4 separate regions of the Homo sapiens genome follow, and regions 1, 2 and 4 are each linked to region 3. The links are contacts of gene promoters, found by promoter capture Hi-C in blood cells and fetal thymus (Javierre and others, 2016). All regions are on one chromosome and are shown on one strand. The core of a region is centred on a gene start or on the middle of the fragment in contact, and the rest is flanking DNA. Distances in the headings are between cores, read along the strand shown.

What was found. The method cuts DNA at HindIII sites, captures the fragments that hold promoters and counts their contacts. A CHiCAGO score of 5 or more calls a contact.
Region 1: the fragment with the promoter of SIAH2-AS1 here is called in contact with the fragment with the promoter of SLC33A1 in region 3 in 1 of 17 cell types (activated CD4 T cells); the score reaches 5.4 in activated CD4 T cells.
Region 2: the fragment with the promoter of COMMD2 here is called in contact with the fragment with the promoter of SLC33A1 in region 3 in 7 of 17 cell types (non-activated CD4 T cells, naive CD4 T cells, total CD4 T cells and 4 more); the score reaches 9.4 in non-activated CD4 T cells.
Region 4: a contact is called between the fragment with the promoter of TSC22D2 here and the fragment with the promoter of SLC33A1 in region 3, in 2 of 17 cell types (activated CD4 T cells and total CD8 T cells). The highest score is 6.7, in activated CD4 T cells.

Annotation. Positions count from the first base shown.
Region 1 is chr3:150,759,697-150,763,382 of GRCh38, reverse strand. SIAH2-AS1 (SIAH2 and CLRN1 antisense RNA 1) reads right to left here and starts at 1,446. Exons shown (of 3, transcript NR_187306.1): 1 at 1,403-1,446; 2 at 976-1,044. It overlaps SIAH2 (siah E3 ubiquitin protein ligase 2), which reads left to right and starts at 214. Exons shown (of 2, transcript NM_005067.7): 1 at 214-950. The coding sequence starts at 534. RefSeq lists a silencer at 1-688 and enhancers at 1-743, 2,560-2,659. The HindIII fragment of the contact is 3,527 bases long and covers 1-3,079 here.
Region 2 is chr3:149,751,239-149,754,706 of GRCh38, reverse strand. COMMD2 (COMM domain containing 2) reads left to right here and starts at 2,218. Exons shown (of 5, transcript NM_016094.4): 1 at 2,218-2,329; 2 at 2,420-2,497; 3 at 3,222-3,304. The coding sequence starts at 2,263. RefSeq lists a silencer at 1,993-2,062. The HindIII fragment of the contact is 1,089 bases long and covers 1,602-2,690 here.
Region 3 is chr3:155,852,864-155,856,231 of GRCh38, reverse strand. SLC33A1 (solute carrier family 33 member 1) reads left to right here and starts at 1,805. Exons shown (of 6, transcript NM_004733.4): 1 at 1,805-3,009. The coding sequence starts at 2,235. LOC105374174 (a long non-coding RNA gene) reads right to left here and starts at 1,479. Exons shown (of 3, transcript XR_924607.4): 1 at 1,154-1,479. RefSeq lists enhancers at 1,218-1,777, 2,148-2,217. The HindIII fragment of the contact is 4,607 bases long and covers 1-2,564 here.
Region 4 is chr3:150,406,635-150,410,356 of GRCh38, reverse strand. It overlaps TSC22D2 (TSC22 domain family member 2), which reads right to left and starts at 2,059. Exons shown (of 3, transcript NM_001303264.2): 1 at 1-2,059. The coding sequence starts at 1,006. RefSeq lists enhancers at 1-242, 949-998 and silencers at 1-268, 529-698, 1,369-1,968. The HindIII fragment of the contact is 3,533 bases long and covers 1-2,324 here.

The DNA of each region.
Region 1 (3,686 bases), core at 197-2,696, 5.1 Mb after region 3:
GACAACCCCGCGGGGCTGCAGCGAGCCAGGCATGCTCACTGGCGCAGGCCCGGCCCGCAGCCCGAGCAGGAAGCGCCGGCGCTAGGCGGCCCCCTGCGCTGCCAGCTGGAGCCGGGCGGAGCCAGCGCCCCGGCGCAGGGTGGCTCTGCCAGTCCCCGCGCGCCTGGGCGGCCGCACACGTGTCCAGGCGTCACGTCCGCGCGCGCCCCCGGGGCTTGCGTCAGCGGCTGTTCCAGAAGCGGGTGGGCCAGGGCTCTGCGCACCGCTGGGGTTCGGGGCCCGGGACGCCGCCGGGAGGAGGGCACCGCGCGGGGTCCGACGCGGAGGCGTGCTCGGAACGCCGGGGGCTGCGGAGTGCATCAGCGCGGTCCAGCCCTCCGCCTGCCGGGCGCCGAGCGTCTCCGCCGCCCGGACCTGGGCTGGGCGCCGTGGCGTTGCCTCGGAGCTCGCTGCCCGCGGGGCGCGCACCGCCTTGACCCGGGCGGCCCCGCGGCAGGCAGGCGCCCGCAGTTCCATGGTTGGTTCGGAGCGCGATGAGCCGCCCGTCCTCCACCGGCCCCAGCGCTAATAAACCCTGCAGCAAGCAGCCGCCGCCGCAGCCCCAGCACACTCCGTCCCCGGCTGCGCCCCCGGCCGCCGCCACCATCTCGGCTGCGGGCCCCGGCTCGTCCGCGGTGCCCGCCGCGGCGGCGGTGATCTCGGGCCCCGGCGGCGGCGGCGGGGCCGGCCCGGTGTCCCCGCAGCACCACGAGCTGACCTCGCTCTTCGAGTGTCCGGTCTGCTTTGACTATGTCCTGCCTCCTATTCTGCAGTGCCAGGCCGGGCACCTGGTGTGTAACCAATGCCGCCAGAAGTTGAGCTGCTGCCCGACGTGCAGGGGCGCCCTGACGCCCAGCATCAGGAACCTGGCTATGGAGAAGGTGGCCTCGGCAGTCCTGTTTCCCTGTAAGGTAAGCCCAGGGACAGCCCACGTACCTCCGCCGGTGACCTCAGGGACTCCGGTATCCGCCAGCCCACTCGCAGGCCCGGAGAGGCGGGCGGCATCTCTCATTTAAAAAAAAAAAAGAAAAAATGTTTACACTTCGTCCACCCTCCCTCAAGCCCACTTTGGGTGTAGGTCTGGGTTGACATTTACCGAGTAATAATTGTTAATAGACAATTAACAGATTAATTGGCATTTGCTGATCGTTAGAACATCGTAGCTCACCCGGCCCAATGCCCGCGTCCTCTGCAGACGTGTATTCGGGTACTCTCGGTAGGGCTGGGCCGCACCAGTAAAACTTGGACCGAGAAACTGACTGTGTGGGGATTGAGGAGGGAGGAAACGGGCGAGCTAAACGCCCCCTTTACCAGCGCTGGGCTCGGCTGAATTGATAATTGGAGTCCTGCACCCCGCGCCTACCGTCTGCGCACCCCTGACACGTGGGAGCTCTCGGGATTGTAGCTAAAAAAAGGGCGCCTACAGCCTGTTTTCCTCTAGCTAGAAGAAAACCCTGCAAGCCACGCCTTTTTCTCTCCTAGCCTTCCAAAGACTGGGAAGGACTGAGGAGTTGTGGCTGCGTTGTTGTACTAAGTGGGGTGAAAACAGTCAATCAAGAAATTAACAAGGGCACTCAAGAGCTGTTGTTACAGTTGTTTAAAGCTCATCACTTCATTTTTTATTTAATGTAAAAAGTTTTCAATGCCCTTGCGAAAAATGCAAGCCACCAAGACAAGAAGTAAAATGAAAGACCAAGATCTCTCCCCTCCTTTCCCACCATTGTTAGGTTTAGTGTGTATCTTTTTAAACTATATATACATACACCCTCGCAGCTAAATATAGAATCATAGATGTCAGTGTATGTCAGGGAGGTTTTTTAATACCCACACATAGATGTAAGTTTTTCTCCAAAAATGGCATCTGCAACTTGCTGTTCTTAAATTCATATTATCACACATATTTCTCTATGCCTGAAACCTAGTCGACTTCATTGTATTTTAAATGGCTGCATAGTATTGCATTGTGTGGTCATATTATAACATTTGTTTACCTGCAGCTATTACGTGGAAACCTTCAGGAGCAGTTTCACAGACATACTTGTCTACGTTATAACCTAGAAGTATACTGTAAAGTCATTTTCTGAAATTAGAAGTGGAGATAATGTCACTAATACTTTCCAGTTTTTTTGTAAAAGTAACTTGCGCTGCCTCTTGGGCCATTTAAGCTGTCTTGCATTTCTCCTTGGTGCTGCTTATTTTATAGGACAAGAGCTCATTTTTAAATTAAAAATAATCCACCAGAGAATTCAGGCTTGGGACTCAGGTCAGTAAAATGAGTGCTTTAATTTGGTCTGCTGCCCTGCTGCAAATCAGGTTTAAAATAGCATATTTAAATAAGAGTTTGAATCGGTGTTTGGACTAGGGTGTTTCAGGCAACCTTAATAAATTGCTGTTAACCCCTCCTCATATAGTGCTTACTAATTCACTCAGCCCAGTTTCTCAAAATTTAGATAAAGTATTTGCATAGTTGTCTTAGGGTTGTGAAAAAGGTGACAACCTAGTGGTTGGAAAAGGTTTGGTGGTAGTTAACATAGAGTGGCTATTTGATGCTTGAGATATATTGCAGGGGTGGGGGATGCCCCATAGGATTTCTGGGGAGCCATTTTCTCACCCCTTTACTTTCCCTTAAACGCGCAGCGGCTAACAAAAGAAATGGCTTTTAGGTGAGTTTTAGTTCACAAATGAGCATTTGATATTAGTCAGTAATCCATAATTTGTTTTTAAAATGTAACCATAATAGAATTGTGTTGTTCCCAAGAGAAAGGGAAGGAAACAGTTATGCTATATGGAGCATGAAGTTTCACTTTCAGGATCTAGAACTCTGGTTCCTATGAAAGCATACGTTCTTTCCTAACGTGAAACAGGCTACTGAAATCAACCTTGAAGAGTAGTTCTGGGAATCAGGGGTTCTCAGCCTTTCTGTACATGTCAGTGGTTTTCTGAGTCTCTATTCTATAAGAATGCAGTGGGGTAAAGCTATTACTTTGCAAGCTGAAATTTAAAAGGGCCAATTATTCCCCTGCAGACCAAGAACCAAGCTTAGGATGTGATCTTGGGGATGCTTTTGTGTGTGCATGTGTGTGAGTTGTATAAAGCTGGGGTGTGTGTCCCTCACCTTTGGTTGATCAATAATCCAAACTATTGGCAGGGCAGCTCAGCCAGTTAGTCTGGATAAACCAAACTTGAATGTATACATAGGCCCAGCGACCAACCAAGATGTGTTAGTTGTAGAGGATGAGAAACAACAGAGAGCCGTAAGGCCTGTATCAAACTTAAAACAAGGCAGATCTGTTTACCTAGCCCTTTGGCCTACAGTTTGAGGCTCCTAGAAATTATGGGACTGCCTTTTTACTGTCCCCACCTGCTCTCAGAATCTCTCATGGGCTGGCTCATGTGAAAAAAACCAACGTTGAATAAAGTACCAGAGCCCACATCTCAAGAGCTGCCACTGTTTGCCTGAAAGACCACCTCCCAGGGCCTTGATTTCCTCATCTATACAAATGAGAGATGAATCTGCTTGACTTCTAAGGACCTGTAGCTTCTAGCATTCTATGAAAAGAAGGGAGGCTATCTGGAATGTTATTGGATGCCCTCTATCTGCCAGTTACTTTGCAGGGGTCAGCTTTTACTAGTTTGCCTTTTTTTTT
Region 2 (3,468 bases), core at 969-3,468, 6.1 Mb after region 3:
GAAGTCACTCTATAAATTATCCTGGGGTGTTTTAACTCCCAGGCTGGTTTTTCTTGGATATAACTTGGTTTCTTTCTTTTTTTTTTTTTTGACAGTGTCTGACTCTGTCACCCAGGCTGGAGTGCAGTGACTCAAATCTTGCTCACTGCAACCTCTGCCTCGCAGGTTCAAGCAATTTTCATGCCTTGGGCTACCAAGTAGCTGGGACCACAGGTACATGCCACCAAGCTTTGCTAATTTTTGTATTTTTAGTAGAGATGGGGTTTTACCATGTTGGTCAGGCTAGACTTGAATTTCTGGCCTCAAGTGATCCTCCCGCCTTGGCCTTCCAAAGTGCTGGGTTTACAGGCATCAGCCACCATACCTGGCCTAACTTGGTTCCTTGACCACCTTTTTTAGACAGCCTATTGTGCTACTCCCTAGTCTCACCTTCACCTCGCCTGTCCTCACTTCATTCCCTGAGATTACAGACAAGAAAGGCCATTTCATATTGGCATAATATTGTGTCTATTTGCAAATTCATTTCAGCATTCCTACTCCCTATATATGTACAGTTCTTGAATACCTCTTTTGAATCAGTTGAAACTGGTTTTTACTGTAATCTCTCATTAATTACAGAATGCTGTAATTCTCTCATTAATTAACTAGTTCAATACATTTTTTGACATGTGTTCATTGTACACTTGTAGAAGAATCATGATTTTACCTTTTCTGAAAATTATTCTTTAATAATGGATGTTTTCTCAATAATGTGTGAATAAAGGCAACTTCAGGAAATGATGCAATTTTTGCTAATCTGCAATTCACAGTCTAAGTAAAAGTTGTGTTCTCTCTGCAAATGCTACTTCAAGAACTAACTAATAAGTTCAAGGACCTGTCTTTCTGTGTCCCAGTGGAAGAAACAATTTCAGTCAGATGTGAAGGACAAAGTAGACACAGAGAAGTGAATTGAAAAACTCTTCCAATTTTTAGTCTGCCTGGGAGACTCAGAATATAGAGTTGTCTCAAGCCTTAGATAGAAAAGACAGATATGAAGAGTCTTCTTCCCTTCCCCTCTCTTCCTCCACACCCTCCATTTTCAAGGGGTTAAGATTTGAAGAATCATATTCCTATCAATTAGCAACTTTATCATCTCTGATATTTGAACCACAGCAGGTGAGAAGAGAGTTGGAAAAGGAACTAAATTATCACAGGCGCTAAATACTTTTTAAAAGGCATTGCTCTGGGCCAGGTGTGGTGGTTCATGCTTGTAATCCCAGCACTTTGGGAGGCCAAGTTGGCTGGATGACTTGAGGTCAGGAGTTCAAGACCAGCCTGGCCAACATGGTGAAAACCCGTCTCTACTAAAAATACAAACATTAGCCAGGCATGGTGGTGGGCGCTTGTAATACCAGCTACTCGGGAGGCTGAGGCAGGAGAATCGCTTGAACCCGGGAGGCAGAGGTTGCAGTGAGCCGGGCGACAGAGCGAGACTCCATGTAAAAAACAAAACAAAACAAAACAAACAAACAAAAACATTGCTCTGAATCCTGTAAGCATCGGTCATTGTCATCATTATCTTTATCCTAATTTATAATCACTCATAAAACTTGTCAGAAGCTTTCAGCTTTCAGGCTGTTATGTAGAAGGATGGGCTTTGCAGCAGGTAAGTGAGGGATCCAACCCTCTCCATCTAACTCTGTCACAGGCTTTGTCACATAATCTCTGGAGCTTTGTGTCTTATCTGTAAAAACAAAGCCATGTTTGTTGAGGATATTAACTGAGATACATTTAAGATAACATAGAAGCTCTGGAAACTATTAGCTTTATAAAAGTGTCAGTTGCTGGACTTGTCTATCAGTTTCCTTATCTCTAATGGAAATTATAATGGAACCTACCTCATAGGGTTCTTCTGAACTCCAAATGTATTTAATAAATGTAAGAACACTTCCTGACACGGTTAGTGCTTAACAAATGTGAACTATTGATATTATTAATGTATGCTCCACGAGGGGGCGTGTCGGATTTGAAACACCTTTTCATCTCCCATAGAGCCTAGCACCTTGCACCCAGCAGGCGCTCACTGCATCTTTGCGGGATGATTTCAATGTTCTGACCTCAGCCTGCGCTGCAGGGAACGTCCGAGTGTAACGCGTTAGTTCGTAGGCCGGAACCCAAAGCTCCGGACGCTGCGACGCCGGAGCCTCTAGGCGCCGGGACACGGGCGCCGGAAGTGGCGAAGGCGGGGTCGGCGCTGCCGGGTGAAATCGTAGGACAGTGAAGATGCTGCTGGAATTGTCCGAGGAGCATAAGGAACACCTGGCCTTCCTGCCTCAAGTGGACAGCGCGGGTCAGCGGGCGTGGGGGCGGTGTTCTGTGGGCTGGGGAGGAGGTCAAAGGCAGCGCCTGGCACTCAACAGCCTTCTGACTTTCATTGCAGTGGTCGCCGAGTTTGGGCGGATTGCTGTGGAATTCCTGAGACGCGGCGCAAACCCAAAAATCTACGAAGGCGCCGCCAGTAAGAAGGGAAAGGGGAAGGCTCCGCAGGCTTCTAGGGCGGTTGCGAGCCATTCCCTGTCTCCCGGGAGAGAAACGGATTATTGCGAGTCCTAGGGTCTTGTTCCGATTGTAGTAGAATAAAACCAGCAGAGCTCTTCAGTCAGGGTGCAAATCCTGCCCGTCCCTTAAGTAGCTGTGAGATTGTTAAAGCTTCTATTAAATCAGTTTTCTCATGGTAAAATGTACATAATACCACCTTACTTTCAGAAATACTGAAAAGTGTTTTGTATAAATATACCAAAGTCTGTGGAATAGCTGGGTCAACTGTAAATTGCAAGTATTTGGTTATCATTATTAGTTGTTCAGATATCCGCTTTTGCTAAAAAAAAAAAAAAAAGTGTTGTTTTACCCCTGGGTAAGAGGCAGTCTCTGGGATTAAGTCAATCCCTGTCGAGTTCCTCTTCTGCCAGACTTGAAGGAGCTACGTATTCAAGAGAAGGGCTACGCACCTGATACTAGTCTCCACAGTTCTGCATTTTGTTAAGGTTACTTGGTGGGAAATACCAAAGGCATTTGGCTGGGAGTGGAATGACAAGGAGCAGGAGCCTCTGGCCAACTTACTGTTTTTCATGCAGTGTTTGAAAACATGTAATAATGAATAGTGTTTATTTTTAAATACAAATATGAACAAGATAAATACTACAGTAGTAATTTATTTGCTCGTTTTTACTTTTCTTTCTCAGGAAAACTCAATGTGAGTAGTGACACTGTCCAGCATGGTGTGGAAGGATTAACGTATCTCCTCACTGAGAGCTCAAAGCTCATGGTAAGGGATTTTCTGGACTGTTTTGTGTTGGCTGGATTCTTAAGAACGGTCTGGTGTACTCTACATCATAGTCCTGGCAGGTACCTGTGTGTTTTAATAATGTTGTTAATGGTTTATAATTGATTTTTTGAAGACATACCTAAAAAATAAAAATCATATCATCT
Region 3 (3,368 bases), core at 556-3,055:
AATGGCATGATCTCGGCTCACTGCAACCTCCGCCTCCCGGGTTCAAACGATTCTCCAGCCCCAGCCTCCCGAGTATCTGGGACTACAGGCATGAGCCACCACACCCAGCTGATTTTTGTATTTTTAGTAGAGACAGGGTTTCACCATATTGGCCAGGCTTGTCTTGAACCCCTGACCTCAAGTGATCTGCCCGCCTCAGCCTCTCAAAGTGTTGGGATTACAGGTGTGAGCCACCGCGCCCGGCCAACACTGTTCTTTTCTGCAATCTATTCTTCTACTTAACAAAGATTAGAGGACTTTACAGTTGCCTTTTTTTTTTTTTTCCAGACGGAGTCTCACTCTGTCGCCAGGTTGGATTGCAGTGGCACGATCCCGGTTCACTGCAACCTCCGCCTCCCAGGTTCAAGCGAGTCTCCTGTCTCAGCCTCCCAAGTAGCTGGGGCTACAGGCGCGCGCCACCAGGCCGAGCTAATTTTTTGTATTTTTAGTAGAGACGGGGTTTCACCGTGTTGGCCAGGATGGTCTCAATCTCTTGACCTCGTGATCCACCCGCCTCGGCCTCCCAAAGTTCTGGGATTATAGGCGTGAGCCACTGTGCCTAGCCTGCCATTACGTTTGTAATCCCAGCACTTTGGGAGGCCGAGGCAGGCGGATCACGAGGTCAGGAGTTCGAGACCAGCCTGGCCAACATAGTGAAACCCCGTCTCTACTAAAAATACAAAAATTAGCCGGGCGTGGTGGCGCGTGCCTGTAGTCCCAGCTACTCGGGAGGCTGAGGCAGGAGAATCGCTTGAACCCGGGAGGTGGAGGCTGCAGCGAGCCGAGATGGCCCTACTGAACACCAGCCCAGGCGACAGTGTGAGATTCCTCTCAAAAGAAAAAAAAATAATAATCTTTCTGCCAGAGGTGAGAGAGCAGAAAAAAAATTAATCAGATTCTCAAATTCCTGTACGTCTCTTAGTAGAGACGGGTTTCTCCTTGTTGGTCAGGCTGATCTTGAACTCCCAATCTCAGGTGATCCGCCCGCCTCGGCCTTCCAAAGTGCTGGGATTACAGGCGTGAGCCACCGCGCCCGGCCACAAGACGTTTTATTGCAACATAAAAACAGGATGTAACGAGTCTTCCAATCACCAATGTAATTAGAGTTGGTTACCAAGTTTCCCCACGCGTCTTCCACCATGAGGGAGAAACGGACTGCAGACAAACCTAGCACCCCTTGAGCAGTTTAATTCGTACTATAAATATGTAGGCACCGTAAGGACGCGATTCTCCAGTTTGCCAGGCCTTTTTCTATCCTTTTGGGGGCACAAGGCGACCTTGCCTCCTGATTCAAAAACTTCGTAAACGTCAATCCTTCTACCCTTTTCTGGTCAGCCCACGAAAGCAGCAGCATGGCACAACTCCCAGCCTAGAGTTCGGGCACTGCCTGTCGTCAGCATAACGAAGAAACCTACACCCACGAAGACTTCAGACCCCACGTGATTACATCACTCAACCACCAGCGCTGGCCTGGAGGAACCCGCTGTCACGTGACCGCTCGTGCCCAATGACCGAGGCCCACGCTTTCCAGACCGCCACAGTCGCTGTCACAGGGCCTGAGTTTGGGCGGCGCCCCGCCCCGGCCGCACGGTGCGCCGGCGTTAATCCTCCCCGAAGGTTCCGGCAGCCAAGATTGCAGGTTCCCACCAAGCATTGTTTCCGAACTGGGCCACGAGAGCGTGTCCCTGATTGGCTTGCTCTGGAGGCTGGGAAGGGACCTGTTAGAGACTGGGACCACTTCCTGAAGCGCGAGGCAGGAAGTTATATGCTTTTTCTGGAGTCCTGTAGAGAAAGTGCTCTCTGCCGCATTGATAGCAGCGAGAGCTGGAGGTGTTGGGTCGGGAGACCAGCCGTTCGATCCCGCCGCAGGTAGGAGCTGGTTTCCATCCTGGCACCACGGCACACACCTCCAGCCTCGAGCCCGGCGCTGCTGCCCGGGGGTCTCCTTCAGGCTCTTTGACGCCGTTCCAGGGGGCACCTATCCAGGCATCCTCTGGGCCTCTAGCCAGAGGACTGGCTCCCGGCTTCAGCACTCCGGGCTGCAGTAAGAAGTGCCCTTATCGCTCTGAGCCCTGCCACCATCCCGTGAACCACCGAAACCCTGGTCCAGCGCGACAGCCTTGGACCTGGGACTGGACGGATCCAAAACGCTCAGCCTCGGCCCCCCACAGACGGGGCTCTGCATCGTCTCTGATATGTCACCCACCATCTCCCACAAGGACAGCAGCCGGCAACGGCGGCCAGGGAATTTCAGTCACTCTCTGGATATGAAGAGCGGTCCCCTGCCGCCAGGCGGTTGGGATGACAGTCATTTGGACTCAGCGGGCCGGGAAGGGGACAGAGAAGCTCTTCTGGGGGATACCGGCACTGGCGACTTCTTAAAAGCCCCACAGAGCTTCCGGGCCGAACTAAGCAGCATTTTGCTACTACTCTTTCTTTACGTGCTTCAGGGTATTCCCCTGGGCTTGGCGGGAAGCATCCCACTCATTTTGCAAAGCAAAAATGTTAGCTATACAGACCAAGCTTTCTTCAGTTTTGTCTTTTGGCCCTTCAGTCTCAAATTACTCTGGGCCCCGTTGGTTGATGCGGTCTACGTTAAGAACTTCGGTCGTCGCAAATCTTGGCTTGTCCCGACACAGTATATACTAGGACTCTTCATGATCTATTTATCCACTCAGGTGGACCGTTTGCTTGGGAATACCGATGACAGAACACCCGACGTGATTGCTCTCACTGTGGCGTTCTTTTTGTTTGAATTCTTGGCCGCCACTCAGGACATTGCCGTCGATGGTTGGGCGTTAACTATGTTATCCAGGGAAAATGTGGGTTATGCTTCTACTTGCAATTCGGTGGGCCAAACAGCGGGTTACTTTTTGGGCAATGTTTTGTTTTTGGCCCTTGAATCTGCCGACTTTTGTAACAAATATTTGCGGTTTCAGCCTCAACCCAGAGGAATCGTTACTCTTTCAGGTAGTGTATTTAAGCTATTATGGTGTTAGGTTTATTTATCCTTTTGAAAGAGTGTGTGACGTTGGAGGGAAGCTCATTAATTTACTGGAAATCATTGTATGGGAGATAACTCAAGGTAAGTTTTCTGTTTCGTCCAAATGAGCTTCTTTGAAATATTAAAGCCAAAATGAATGATATTAGAGCAATCAAATGATCACTATGCGGTTAACAGGGAGAGGCAACCCATCAAATAACACAACCGAGTCCAGGGATTCATGCCACTTGCTTAATACACAAATGCACACTTTTAAAAAGTGTGGCTCATATGGTTCACATTTTTCCTTTTGTCTTGTTGGTTTTAGGTTTCTAGCTCTATACTT
Region 4 (3,722 bases), core at 810-3,309, 5.4 Mb after region 3:
TAGCCGGCTGCGCCAGGGTTACATTCGTCGGCGGCAGAGTCTGTCCCCCGGGCCCCGCTCCCTGGGGCTGGCTGGGCTGCGCGGCTGCCATCATTGGCTGCGGCCCGGTCGCGGCTCCCGGGAACGGCGGCAGCGGAGCCGAGCTTTGAGCCACAGCCCCACCTACGGGTGGCGGCGGCGGCTGTGGCTGCCCAACGCTAAAACTCTGCGGCTGGGCCGGAGTGGGCTGGCTCATTTTCTCCGACGGGGGTAGCTGTGACACAGCAGTCAAGGAGCTGTCAGTTCCCGACTCGGGCCCGTGCGCCCCCTGCATGGAGGCCACTACTACCACCACCGACCCTCCGGTGGCGCCCAGGCCGCTGTCCCGCTCCGCAGTCTGGTCAAAAGTACTGCTGTGTCTAATGCAATCCCCGGATCTAGTCAGGACGCTGCTGTCTGAATCCCTCTCATAGTATTCCATACACGTCCATCGGCCGCGTCTATAGGGCTCTCCGCTCCCGTGGTCCAGCTTGATCACGCGAAAACGGGAACTACATGTGGTGGGAGGCTGAGATGGGGCTGCAGTCACTGGCCCGGCGGATGAGCCCGCGAGCTGGGGGCCGCCGGGTGCTCCGGGGGCGGGGGCCGAAGTGGCAGCCGCCGCCAGGGTACTGGCGAGCGCCCCAGACACGCTCCGGGCCGAAACGACTCCTCCTCCGTTGGCGGGAGCAGCAGCCGCCGCTGCCAGCTGCCCATCTAGGAGGAGGTTTGGGGAGACGGTCCCGGGAGTCTCCGCATCCCCAACATTGTTAAGCGTCTCTTCGGAAGAGCTGCGCTCGCAGACCTCCTCAGGGCCATAATCCGTGGCCCGAGAGACGTCGAAAATCTCGGAGGAGACGTCCTCTGTGCGTGACTCGTCCGGGTCGTCCAAGCTCTCGGTGTCCTCGGTGATGCTAGTGGCCACCTGGGCCGTGGTGACACTGGTGATCTGGAAGCAGCTCTTCTTCTTGGCCGGCATCTTGGACATGGTGAAGAAGGCTGGAGGGCAGAGAGGCACGCCGGCTCCTCTGGGTCCTGTCGGAAACCGGGGAGGGCAGAGCACGGGCCCCCAAAGACAAAGTCCGAGTCTGCGCTGGGGTCTGAGGCCCGCCGCTGTTAAGAGTCACGGGCTGATCCAGGCGCTGGCCGCCCGGTGAGACATCCTCCTCCTCGTTTCCTTCTCTGTGTCGGTCTCTTCGGCTCTGCCCCCGTCTCAGTCCCGCGGCGGCTCCTCCTTCCTTTTTAGCTCTCGCAGCCGCGGCGCCTCAATTCAATTCCCTCAGAGGCGGCGAGAGCGCGAACCCAGGGGCGGGCCGGCTGCTTCCTCTCTCGTCTCCGGGCAGCCGTGGTCAGTCCAGCTCGGCGCTCGGCGCGGTCAGCAGGCCTTGGCTGGGGGTGGGAGTGGGAGGGCGAAGAGGAGGAGGAGGAGGCGGTGGCGGCGGCGTGAGGGGCGGTGCTGCCCCGCTCGGGCTCCTCAGGCCGGTGCCGGCGTCAGCGCTGGGCTCTCTGACTGAGGGAAGGAGCGGCGAGTCCGGAGTCGGAGATGCCTAATTCAGCCGGGAGCCGCGGGCCGGAGCTGGCTGAAGGTCCGCGGGCGGGCGGTGGGGCTGTGGCGCGGGCAGGCGGCCCTCCCTCCCCGGCTCTAGCCGGAGCTCAGCCCCAGGGACATGTCGACTGCCTCAGGCGGAAACCCGCTCTGGGGGAGGGGAAAGCCGGCTCGGTCCTCCCCTTACAGGGGGAACCACCCCTGCGGGCGGGCGGCGACGGCGGTCTCGGCCTCCCCTCGCGGCTTCTCTCAGAGAGGGGCGGCGGCGGCAGACCGCTGGCACGGGACCGGAGGCGCCCCGGCTGTGTGAGGTAGCGGTGGTGGCTTCTCCGGCTCCTCCTCGGTGCGCCCAATTCCTAAACCCCGAAGAAACTGAAATTCAAACTGCTGAAGCGGCGGCTGCAGCTCCCTCCGCTGGGCCAAGATGGGGCTGAAATGGCCGCGCCAGGGATGCTGGGAGGAGCAGCAGCCCCGCTGCCGCCGCCGCTGCCGACTAAAATGCCGCCGCTGCCGCAGCCACCGCCAGCGCCGCAGCCGCCGCCGTTCCGTGACGCACCGGCGTCGTGACGTCACCGCTCCGCCCCCTCCGGTTTCCTGCAGTTTCGCGTGGAACCTGGGGTGGGGGGCAATGGGCGGGGCTAAAGGTTAAAAAAGGGAGCGGTTTCTTTATTTAAAATTTTTAAAATTTAAATTTTGTGTTGTAGGTTCTTTAAGCATTGACGAGCTAAAGACCATTTTAAATTCTAAGCCTAGGGAAGCTTACAATGGAACTAATCAGATGTTTTTATGTCGGTTTGTTCCGAGACAGTGGAAGACTGGAGGTCATGTGCTTGTGTCTAATGTTTAGCAAAATCTTAGTGAAACGAGGGCGATAGGAATGGGGGCTGGGGAAGACTTAGATGGGATAAAAAGAGGTGCGGCTGGAAGAACTAAATCACTTTAAAACTTCTGAAAATAAATGTTGACCATTGTAGTCAGAGGAGTAAAATGTTCAGAGAAATGGGGATGATTAAACAAGAACGGCAAGCCAGATTGAGTCAGAAAATTATCTTCCTGCCAGAAATTCTGTCTCCCACAACGGCATCAGGGGGTGGTTACTTGCCCAGGGTGTAGTCAGTTTTTAAAAAGCTTAAGGGTTACCAACATATTCCTAAATTTCCTGAATTTGCTGTGATTCCAGGATTCATTTAAACTCTTGAGACTGTTTTACTTTCGGCACGAAATCAGCTCATGGGCTTTATAAATGTAGAACCTACTGCATTATAGTTCTTCTTTTTGTTTATTCTAAAACTGTTAGTAGCAGCCAGCGTATTATATGATTTGGATTGGGCCATGAACAACCGTAACGAGTGATAAAGCACCCTTTCCTGTTCCAATGCAAAGAACAACTATGAAAAGAAAGTACTGGCAAATTTATCATCTTGTAGTTAGTTCCTGGCCAAAGAAAATGGTAAGGCCATTCTTTTAAGCAGTTAAAAAAAAATGGGGATGGGCTCTTAAACTTTGGCATGCTAAGGCCATTCTTTTAAGCAGTTTAAAAAAATGGGGATGGGCTCCTAAACTTTGACATACTAAAGCAGTCGTCATTTAGGTAAAATCTAAGTCTTAATGGAAATCGTGATTTCATATCTACTGCAGCGTTAGCAATCACATAATGATAACTTAAATCAGTAAATCGTTGAACTCGGTTCTCTAATCTTTGAAGAATAGAAATACTTTTTATCCCAAAAGATGTTTTGAGAATTAAATTTGCAGAGAATTTTTTAGGTCTTTAGTTGTAATTTATAGAGCTAGGTCTTTTAACTTTAGTGGAAACCATGCCCTCCAAACCCAAGTGACTGGAGTCAGAATGTGAAATAAGACGACATAAAATCCCTATTTCTTAAGGGGCTGGGCGAAAGTAATGGAACAAAATGTAACGTTATGCTATTGTGGCAGAGATAGCTAATGGAATGTTTCATTTCTAAGTCTGTAATTTCAGTAATTGTTAGAGGCAGTTTTCCATCAATAAGTTAGATCAAATGGTTAAACCCAATATGAATTTATAAAAGCTTAATTTAATTTTGGATTGATTTACCAGATGTTTAAGGTGGTTATAATGGGTAGTGTTGATGGTGGTGCTTTTGGAAAAATGAGTATTATATGCCTGCTCATCCCT